2 separate regions of the Homo sapiens genome follow, and region 1 is linked to region 2. Evidence: promoter capture Hi-C in human tissues and cell types (Jung and others, 2019). All regions are on one chromosome and are shown on one strand. The core of a region is centred on a gene start or on the middle of the fragment in contact, and the rest is flanking DNA. Distances in the headings are between cores, read along the strand shown. Region 1 overlaps NSF (N-ethylmaleimide sensitive factor, vesicle fusing ATPase). Region 2 holds the start of WNT3 (Wnt family member 3).

The links. The method cuts DNA at HindIII sites, captures the fragments that hold promoters and counts their contacts. A contact is called where the count stands out against the background at its distance.
Region 1: a fragment that was not itself captured here is called in contact with the fragment with the promoter of WNT3 in region 2 in 3 of the 25 tissues and cell types used here (dorsolateral prefrontal cortex, mesenchymal stem cells and spleen).

Annotation. Positions count from the first base shown.
Region 1 is chr17:46,743,736-46,748,984 of GRCh38, reverse strand. The region is part of intron 17 of NSF (N-ethylmaleimide sensitive factor, vesicle fusing ATPase); the gene reads right to left. It also overlaps a transcript of LRRC37A2 not described here. Among named protein-coding and RNA genes, the nearest start is that of WNT3, 72 kb to the left of the region's middle. The HindIII fragment of the contact is 3,479 bases long and covers 1,705-5,183 here.
Region 2 is chr17:46,816,868-46,822,619 of GRCh38, reverse strand. WNT3 (Wnt family member 3) reads left to right here and starts at 3,928. Exons shown (of 5, transcript NM_030753.5): 1 at 3,928-4,102. The coding sequence starts at 4,023. It also overlaps a transcript of LRRC37A2 not described here. RefSeq lists an enhancer at 2,286-2,873. The HindIII fragment of the contact is 29,146 bases long and covers 1-5,752 here.

The DNA.
Region 1 (5,249 bases), core at 2,195-4,694, 73 kb after region 2:
TTTACATCCTTCCGATACAGTTATTTCACAGTCTTTAGTTAAATCTATATTCAGTATTTATTATGTTTATACAAATGTGGTTTACAGCTAGGCCATGCAGAGTACTATTCAATTTCCTTTCTTGGACAACATTTTGTTTTACTGGAGTTAATTGCCTTTTTCCCCTTTGCTTAGTTTACCAGGTACTTATCACAAGTTTGTCTCTAAAACAATCACAAGTCTCCTTTCAGTATGTTCAAACACATTACATAGTTTAAAGTTGTGTTCTTGAAGAAATTCCCCTCCAGGAGTCCTGTGTGTTCACAGTTCAATCTGAAGCGGTGACTCTCTAGGCCTGGGGCACAGCTGTAGTTCTGGAGCTTTCCTCTCTCTTCTGTTAGATTCCCTGTATCCCAGCCTTCCTTTTCCTCATCTATTCCCCTGTCTATGCTGCATGTACCCAAAAGCTTCCTCAGAAAGAGTGAGGGAGGTAAAATTTTAAAGACCTTGCATGTCTGGAAATACCTTTATTCTAGCCTTACTATTGTATCCTTTGTCTTAATAGTTTGGCTAGTTGTAAAAAATAAGGTTAGAGGCCAGGTGTGGTGGCTCATGCCTATAATTCCAGTGCTGTGGGAGGCCGAGGCAGGTGGATCACCTGAGGTTCAGGAGTTTGAGACCAGCCTGACCAACATGGCGAAACCCCATCTCTACTAAAAATACAAAATTAGCTGGGCATGGTGACACGTGCCTGTAATCCCAGCTACTTGGGAGGTTGAGGTAGGAGAATGCTTGAACCCAAGAGTCAGAAGTTGCAGTGAGCCGAGCCAAGATCACGCCATTGCACTCCAGCCTGGGCAACAAGAGCGAAACTCCATCTCAAAAAAATAAATAAATAAATAAAAAGGTTAGAAATAATTTTTTTCTCACAATTTTGAAGGCACTGAAGGCTAAAAGACAAATGCTATCTGATCTTTGATCTTTTGTTTCTAACCTTTTTAATACAAAACTTTCAGAATCTTTTCTTCATTCCTATGTTCTGCAATTTGAAAACTACATATCCTAAGATGGTTCTTTCTATACTCATTTTGCTGGCACTAGATTCCTTCTTTCTAAACTGGAAATTCCAATCATTCAGTTCTAGGAAATACATTTCCTTGAGATTTCCTCCCATTCATTTTCTCTGTATCACCCACTGGGAACCTCTTAGTTGGATACTGATTCTCTAGGACTAATCTTCTAATTTTCTTATTTACTCTTAGTTTTTATTTCTTTCTCTTTCTAATACTTTTCAGGTTAGTATCAATTTTATCTTCCAACCTTTACACTAACTTATTTTTCAGTTCTAAGAGCTCTTCTTGTTTTCTGAATGTTTTCTTTTTTAATTGCATCCTGTGCAATTAAAATACAATATCTTGTTTTAGATCTCTGAGGCCGGTGGCTCACACCTGTAATCCCAGCACTTTGGGAGGCTGAGATGGACAGATCACTTGAGCCCAGGAGTTTGAGACTTGTCTAGGTAACATGGCGAAACCTCATCTCAACAAAAATACCAAAATTAGCCGGGTGTGGTGGCAAATGCCTGTCGTCCCAGGTACCTGGGAGCCTGAGGTGAGCAGATCGCTTGAGCCAAGGAGTTTGAGGCTGGAGTGAGCCGAGATGGCACCACTGCACTCCTGCCTGGGTGACAAAGTGAGACTCTGTCTCAAAAAACAAACTTGTGAATATTATAGATTGCAAAAATGATGTTTTCTTCTGTTCCTTGTTTTGTCTGTTTCCTATGACTTGCCCCTTTTTCCAATTTGTTTTCTGGAGGCTTTCCTCAAGTGTCTGGTGATTGCTGGATAGCTAATTCACATTTAAGAGCTAAACTATGAATGGAAATACTGTGTCGGGGGGCTTCACTATAGGATGATCAGGTAAGACCTGGCTGATTACTGGGGGTCCTTCAAAGGTCAGTATGTGTACATTTTTCCCAGAGAAGAATCTTCCAGTCTCCTTCCCAAAGACTATAAAGCCTCGTTGCCAGCATACTGGAGTCAACAGGGTAATGTTTCTGGGTATCTCGCCATTTAATAGGGACACCTCCACTTAATCCTCTTTGTAGTATGGCACCTCTCCAGATCAGTCTCTCAATTAATTTTCATTATAATCATGAAAATTCAGTACTACTACTATCCCCATTTTACTGATGAAGCTATTGAATCTCACAGATATAAGTCATTTGTGTTCAAGGCAAGTCATTTGTGTTCAAGGCCAAATAACCAATACATGATGGAGCCAAGACTGGAAACCAGATCCAGACCTAAATCATATACTGCCTGTCTTTACAAAGAAAAACACATTACTAAAAAAGTTTACTTGGAAAATGAAAAAGGAATAAGTTTTAAACTTATGTCACTAGATTTATAATACACACTCAGTCCATAGATAAGTCTTCAGTAAAGACTAATCATTGAACCTATACACAGATCTTGGAAATTCAGAACATTAAAATAAATGGGCTATCGGGAAAAGATTTTAAGAAACCAAAATAATTTCAATTTGGGTTTGGTAAACATTATACCACTACTGTCAATAAGACACATTAGCCTTTCTCAATGTTACTCATTGTTTTTATCCACCTGCTGTGCCAAGAATGGGCAAGGTACCACCATAAACCAATGCAGATCAAAGAAACAAAGTTGAGACCCTCTGGTACAATTAGCCATTAGCTTAACAGATGACTGCGCATAGAATATGAGATAGAAGTACACCTGTGAGCATTCAGATTAAAGGGTAATCATTATTATTATTTGAGGAATCAACTAGGAAAAAATCAAATGCTTATCATCAGACATTTACCAAGTTCCTAGATGAATATGCAACAGACCTTCCACAGAAAGACAGATGCAAAATAGATAATTATAGTACAATATGGAAAGGTGGAGGTATTACGCACAAGGATGTCAGGTAGAGGGAAGAAACACGTGGCAGAGAAAGCTTTTTCTGGAGGAGATGATACATGAGTTGAGTCGTAAGGAATGAGTAGGTTGATTAGGAAGATGAAGGGGAAGGACATTCTAAGCCAGAGGAACAGAAATACCTAAGTCCAAGGGCAAAATAACAACAAAAGCTGGGTGTTGAGGTAATTACAATCGAGTAAAGACATACATTTTTACTATAACAAAAAGTGGTGCTGTTATATTTAAAGTATTTTTTAACACTAAATTCTAATGGCAAACTTGGGAACATAGCCCTAAAGGCTAACAGATGCCAAAGGCCACACATGCTGATACATCCTCAGTATGATTAAAGGTAACTGTTACTTCTCTTTTTTAGCTTTTTAATGTTCCATAGTCCATAATGCAAACTTCCTCATCTTGCTCCTCTCTCACAAAGGACAATGTTGGCCCTAGAACAGTGGCACTGAGGAAGAAGCTTCTTACTCATTCCAGAAAGCCGGACTTTTAAAATCGCTGCCAGTTTCCTCATGAGATGTTCTCTTACATTAACAGTGACTATGCTCTTCAAAGTGTTGAAAGATTGGGAAATGTAGAGCAACCATACTGGAGACGCTAATTTATGTTTTGCTTTCCTTCTTGTTTAACAAGACTCCAAAAACTGCAAAGAGGTCATGACCCAGGCAAGTTTGGGTCTTGACTTGTAAAGCGTCATCTTTAAGAAAACATTGAAAAACATTACCAAATTATTAAATTGTGCTGGGCCATTTTGTGTATTAATTAGTGGTAGTGCTCATAAGGAAGCTTTATCATGAAAAACAGCTCCGAATATATTAAAGTGATACATTGCATGGGATTCGTCTGAAGGGAAACACTGCCAGCAGCATGAAATGGGGATGCAGCTTTAAAAACAAAAGTGGTGCTCAACCCAAGAGGGGACCTCCACCTTCCTAATGTGTGGCCACCAGTCTTAATGTCCACAGTGCCCAAACATGCCCCTTGACGGAAAGCAAAAAAAAAAGCACAGAGTGATAACCTATTTGGGAAAAAAGAAATTGCTCCCAGCATACTCTTTACTGAGATTTGCTAGTCCTGATGCTATAAAGAAAAAGCCTAAGTAAAATGACTATCTGCCAATCGGATTATGATAAACATTGTTCCAAGGTTAAATAAGTATTAGTTAACTAATTCTTAGTACCATAAGCAGCAACTCAGGTGAAAACATTTCCATGAAAAAGGCAGGGCTCAGTCAGGTGTTGATCCTTCAAAAAAAACACTTCTTTACATGATGAAGAATGAGCGAGTACTAAGCAGCATCTAAGCCTTTTGCCACACAAAGGACCAACCAGATAATCCACACCCTTTCATAGGTCTTGCCCATTGATTGGACCCAATAAACTGATTTGTAACAAAAGTTCAAGTGGAAGAAAGCTTTTTTTTTTCCCTAAATAAAAATGCCACTAATATAATACTGCAGTGAAATGGAAGGGCTGATTTCAACCTATGAACAAAAGTAAAGTCAGTTATGCAGGAAAGAAAGGCCATTCTTTCCATATCATTCAATGCTGAGCAAGTGTAATACACCCTTGGTAAGAAGAATTAACTGTGAACAATTGAAAACCCTGAAATGGATTAAGAAGTGAGTTTAAAAGTGCAACTCAAAACTGCTATGTGCTGGGGGCATTAAACTTTATTTTCTGCTTAGTAGAATCTGATGTTTTTGTAAATGAGAGTGAAATATTTCAGAATATTAAGCATTTGTAAATCTGGTAAGTAAAATATGAAATAGACATTAGCCAATTGGAGCATTAACAATAATTTACTCCTTTTAGGTACTTAATAGAATTATGAGATTTGGTTTGTGCCTTCAAATAAGTTACAACTTAGCTGGGAAAACCAAATAAATATTCAGGGAACACAACCAAGTAACACACTCGCAAATACAAACTAATCATGGCGGAGGGCACCCGGTTTATGGGGACAGTTTCCTGGAGGGGGGTTATCTAGGAAGGTTATCCGTAGTACTGCAAAGACAATGACAACAAGTAGGCACTGGCAAGGCCCTTGAAAAGAAGGGACAGGTCCTGAATGCGCCTAAATCCTATGTGTGTGGTAGAAGCAGCTGAGACAGAGCACCAAGGCTGAAAACGAAGTTGTCTGCAGACACAGGGAGGGAACAATCAGCAAAAGGCAGACTCGGGATGCTAAACTAAGGGAAATATTTAATATAAAAAGCAACAGGAAACCAGAGAAGGCTCTTGAGGAGGAAGACCTGTGATGGAGAAGAGGGTTCTGGCAGCCACAGGCAGGAGGTCTACCTCTTAGGGG
Region 2 (5,752 bases), core at 2,679-5,178:
CTGCTCACCAGCAACAATTGAGGATGCCGGGCCCGCAGGGAGCGGAGTGGGACCAGGCGCGACCCCTTCCTCGCCTGCTGACCTCCCGCCTTGCTATCAGCACTGCCGCCAGGGGGCGCGCCCGCGCCGCTGGGCTCTGAGCCGACCTCCGCGTGCACCTGCGCTCCTTTGTGTGTTAGATTAACATCTGGTGCTTACCTACTATGCGCTTACTCGGTGCAGGTCAGGGGCTTCCTGCATTTCCAGGATGCAGCCTCTATGCCAGCAAACTAGGCTGGGCAGTGGAAAGAAATCCGATTTACTCCTGCGCCCACCACCCACGCTAGGGCCTTCCTGCTTCCAGGCTCTGCTGTCCAGCCTTCCAGTGGCCTCTAGGGAGCTCGCCTAAAACCGCTCTGCGGTTCCTACAGCTCCTAGGAGAAAGTTAAACGCCCTCCTCTCCAGGTCAGAGGCCTTGGAGCCCCCTATGTGCTCCCTTTGCACTGTTCCTCCATAAGCCCTGTGGTGTTAGGCCTTCGGCCCTTCGCACTTCCCCACCTGCTTCCCCGCTGCAACGGCTTCGCCTCTCCCTTTACCCCCCCAGGTTGGTCCGGCTCCCGACTCCCGCCTGGCAGCCCCAAGACCTGTTTCAAGCAAAAATGAATGGCACAGTGCCTGGATCGGAGATTTCCTCCTCCTTCCCCGCGACAGACGGGTAGCCCCATGAGGGCGGGCGGGGGCCTGGCCACCGGATTCTTTGTCTACACGGTGCCTCCGCAGGGGGTCCAGTGGAGCCTCACTGAATACACAGCGGCAGACTCTGAGCCCCGGGGGAGTGCACATCAAAAGGAACCTCCGAGCCAGCTAGAGAGAGGGGTTGGGTTGGGACTGGGGTCCCCTTCCCAGGTCTAAGGTCCCACACATTCACACACACAACAAAAAGTGCTTCCCACGTGCCACCCCATGTCCCCAGGTCCCTGGCCCTTGCTGCCTCTTCTGCCCTCTTCCAAGAGACCACCCTTCCTTTCAGGGCGATGGCCTCCTGGTCCACCGGCTGATGCCTCCACCCCGCCCTCCCTTCCTGGTCTTGGAGTGAATTTAACCCTTTCTCCACCAAGTGAAACCACCCTGGGGCTTGGGGTACCTGTTAGAGAGAGGGTGTTTCTATCTGTGATGTGTGGTCAGGGGCGCCCGCCCTCCCCTGAGAGAAACCATTCCTGCGTTTCCACCCGCGGCAGCGCAAGGGGTGCAGGAGGAAGGAAATTAAACCTGTGTTGAAGGAAGGACACCTGGGGGAAAGGAAGGGACTCAGGCTCCCCTTGTCTGAGGAGCTTTCAAGTGGCGGAAATCCCCACACACACCTCCATTCACTAGGGGCCTGGCAGGGCCGCTGGTAGGTTCCAGTCCTCTCCTCTGTCACTTCCCAGGCGCACATGGCCAGCTCCTAGATTCCACCCTTCAACCCACTTGTTTCCTGCCTGATGCACATGACCTGCGTCTGAGTTCTCCAGGCTGCCTGGAGGAGGCATTCAGGTACACATGACCCCTCAGGGAATGATGTTCTTGCCCACAGCACCCAGGATGCTGGCTGGGCATATCTCAGCCAACACACACTCCCACCGACAGCCTCGGATCTTTTGCTCCCACCTCACAGGGTTGGCACCTGTGGAGTCTTGAGGCCCAGTAATGACCCCAAGAAGCCATCAAGTCCAGGCCCTGTCGCCCCACCATACTGCATCCACAGTGGTGTCTGAGTGGCCAGGGAAGGTAGCCCTCCCCAGCTCTCAGCACCACTGTCATGGGGCTCTGGAACTCCCGAGCCCTTGGGCAGGACTCCAGCAGGCAGCTCTGATCAGAAAGCCACCTGGGAGCCCTGTGGGTGGGACAGGACTCCAGGTAGGACCTAGCAGGCCTCCATCCAAGAGGGAGGTATGTGGAAAGCTCTCCACTGCCAGAGCCTTGGTCCTGAGGCTCTGCATTCATGGCAATGGTAACCCTCTTTCCAGGTGAATCAGAAACAGGGCACCCCAGAATCAGCCCAGCCATGAGGAGCATCTCTAGGGATCCCCATCTCTGCAGCCCCCACCAGGTTCACCACTCCTGGTCAGGTTCACGATTTTTCTTCGCCTTGCAGCTCCTTGGTGCTCTCCGCCTCCCCCCTGCCCCTTTCTTCCTCACACCGGTGGCTCAGCCTCCCCCCGACAGTTTTCTTGGTTTCTGTCTCAGCGTCTCTCTCATCTCTGAGCCCCTCTCTCTCTCTCCTCCTCTCGGATTCTCCTTTTCCTCCCCTTCCTTCCTCTCTTTCAACCTCCCCTCCCACCCCCTCCAGTCCAGCAATGGGCTGGGAACGCAGCAGGAGCCATGACAAGCCCAGGCGGCTCTCCCGACCCTTGGTGCCCCCGAGGCCATTTCCCCGCGCTCCCTGTGCCGGCAGCAGCCGCGTGCGGAGAGGGCTCGCCGACCAGAAGGGGCAGCAGGTTGGAGCTGTGGGTACGGGGGGCTCAGATCAAAGGCCAGGAATGTCTGGCCCCCTGGCGTAAGACTTCCTTCAGCCATGGCCCTCACCTCGTGGAACGCCCGCCGTTCCAGGCCTCTGTGGGACTCGGGTCGGCTCATTCTCTGCCCTTTCTGCCACAGTTCCCTACACAGCGGTCCCTGCTCCCCACCGGCAGTGCTTCCTTCACCCCAGACCGGGGCTGCGCAGAGTCCTGGTGCCTCAGGTGGCCTGGGAGGGGGCCTAGGGAAAGGCACCCAGGTGACCGGGCGTGAGTCCCCAAAACCTGACCATGATGTCAATACCACCCAGGGCTGAGACCTAATTCCTCGCTCTGGAGAGGGAGAGGAGAGGAAGCAAGCCCGAAGGGGGCCTGGAAGGACTCCTTTCCTGTGGGGAGGGGTGGGTAACTGGAGGCATTTGGTGTCCGCACAGGGCAAGGGCCTTTATCGCCAAACCCCAGGCTGGAGCTCCCTATCAGTAGAACCGGGGCCTCAGGCGGGACGGTCGGGCAGTGAGGGGCGCTCCGGAGGGCAGCAAGGTCTTCCAAGGACCTGGGCCGCCCTCGGCCAGAGCTGCGCGTTTCACCGGTCCCTGATGGTCCAACCGAGAATCCCACTGAGGCTGTGGGTCACGCCTCCGACCCGGGCCAGAGGTCGGGCCTGAACCCCTCAAGGAGGAGAAAGTGACCCGACTCCGAGAGCAGGAAATGCGACTGGCCGCTGGTGTCAGTTGCAGGAAATGCAAAGGCAGCAGGAGGTCCCGATACCGATCTGATCCCTGACAAAAGACTCAAATGACACTCGGCTCCGTCCCCCGGCGCCGCCCGCAGCCAGACCTTCGAGCCTCCGCGGACTTTTCCGCACGTTCCTCGGACACCCGGGAAGTGACCTCCCGCGGCCAGGACGAGAGGCCAGAGAGCGGGCGGACTCGGGAGGCTGGAAGCTGGGAGGGGGTGCGTTCCCCCACCCTCTGATCCTGACCTGCCCGAGCGGGGCTTCTGGAAACATCCCTGTGCTTTCTACCCTCGATTCCTCGCGGGCCCACGTCCCAACGGGTCACGGTCCCCGCCAGCAAAGGAGCCACCCGTTCATGCCCACGCCAAGCCCTCGCCATGTGAACGCCCGGGTCAAAGCCCCCGCGCCCTAACCCTGGCCAGCGGGGGACCGCGGCGGTAGCAGAGGGTCCGGCCCACCGCGTCCCCCCGAAGCCCCGCGGCGTCCGGGGCGCGGGCTTTGCCCAAGTTTGCTGGGCGATGCCCTTCCCGGAGCCCGAGTTGTGGGCCGGGCGGGAGGGGCGCGTGATTGACAGGCTGAACTACAGACTCATCTCTTACCTTAGGCCGCGGGCGCTGATTGGCTGCTCGCTGACATCCTCAAACCCGGCTGCTCCGCGCTGGGCTCGGGAGGGGGGCGGCTGCGGGTGGAGGTGCGCTTCTGACAAGCCCGAAAGTCATTTCCAATCTCAAGTGGACTTTGTTCCAACTATTGGGGGCGTCGCTCCCCCTCTTCATGGTCGCGGGCAAACTTCCTCCTCGGCGCCTCTTCTAATGGAGCCCCACCTGCTCGGGCTGCTCCTCGGCCTCCTGCTCGGTGGCACCAGGGTCCTCGCTGGCTACCCAATTTGGTGGTAAGACTCGCCTCTTGTCTGCCCGCGGCCCGGTTTCTCCGCCGCGTCCGGGGAAGGTGGGGGCGCCGGCTGGGGGTGGGCCGCTGCAGGGCTGGGGCTCCTCTCCTCGCCTCCCTCCAGCCCCCCACCCGCCCACCCCTCCTGGATTTTCTGCTGGTGTCGCCTTCAGAATCCAACTCCTGGCTCCTCTGATAATCACCATTTTCCCTGCTCCCCGCTGCAGGGGCTGGAGGACTTTTCCCATCTCAGAAGGTTTCTTATTCTTAGATCCTAACCCTCTGCCCGTCCCAATCTAGAGGCCCCCGAAGACCCCCCATTTGCTTGCAGTTGGGTTTCTGGAAATCCAGCACTGTCCCTGGGGCCCAGCCACTCCTCTTCTCCATTTTGGGGTCTTCATGGGCAAAACCATCCTGTTCCTTCACTGCCACCCCACCTCTGCCGGCGCCTCCATCAAGAGATTCCCCATAATAACCCCCCTTTGCCTTCCTATTTCAGACCCCAAAGGCTTCAGGGCTCCTCCCGGGGCAGGGGAGTGGGTGGGGGGATTTCATCAGATTCTCCCCACCGCTCTAGATTCATCTTGAGCCTCTGAAGTGAATATGGTATTTGCTGATCCGGGATGCCATTGAATTCGGATTTTATTCATTTCTTGCTTGTCCACCCTGGCAAAAGGGGGGTTCCTTGAAAATGTGTTGTCTGGGAGGGGTAGGCTTGTTGTTCTTTGACCAAAAATCCAATTCTCCATGTCACATTTCTTCCTTTTGGAAAACCGAGGACCGAGGAGAAAGGGAGAGGGAAGGGAGAATTCCGTCCCTGAGAAATGTGGATACAAAAGACATTTTAGTAAATAAGACTGGGAAGCCGGGAGCAGTGCTTGGGGGGGGCTGTGCGTGTCTGGGGGGCCTGGGTGAGGAATAAACATCGCTTTGGGAGCCCCAGCTCCAGGAGTCCCCTTGTTTTCCGAGCGGCCCCATCGCCGCTCTCCCACCCTCCGCAGGTCCCAGGGGCCAGAGGGGAAGACACTGAAACCAGTTCTCTAAATTACACTCCGCCTCTCCCCAGTCTCCAGCCCCCTACATTCCGGAAAACTTTAATTAAAGAATCTTCCCCTCCTGGACATAGGAGAGCCTTGGCCTGGGCGGGGGGAGGTGAGGAGGAAGAATTTGGGATCTGTGAGTGAGAAGTGGGCTGTGGCCCCCGGGGTGAAAGTCAGAAAGAAGTGCCACCACGGTGCGGTACCGCCTGCAGGTCCCCAGACTCCCTGCCTTTCGCCAACCCAGAGTCCAGGGTAGGAGGAGCAGAGACAGCGAGACTTGGGGGCCACACCCCGAGTCTTCCAGTTGTTTGGGGATGGCAGCATTTGTGTCTGGGTGTTTGGGGCTCCTGGGAGAGAGGGTGGGGACATGGCCAAGGGTCTCTGTTTAGAGGGTGCTAGGAGTTGCTCCCAGGACAGCCAGCCAAGGGGAAGTCTTTCTTCTGCCCAACCCACACTTTTCCGGGGGGCTGGGCTAACCTGAGGCTTCCAGCACATAAAGAAGTCCATGGGGTGGCCAGGGCAGCCAGGGACTTCAGGAAGGAGGTTCGGCCAGTCTGGGGAAAGGCTGCTGCCAACACCAGTCCAGCCTCACCCGGCCATTCCTGACCCTCTTC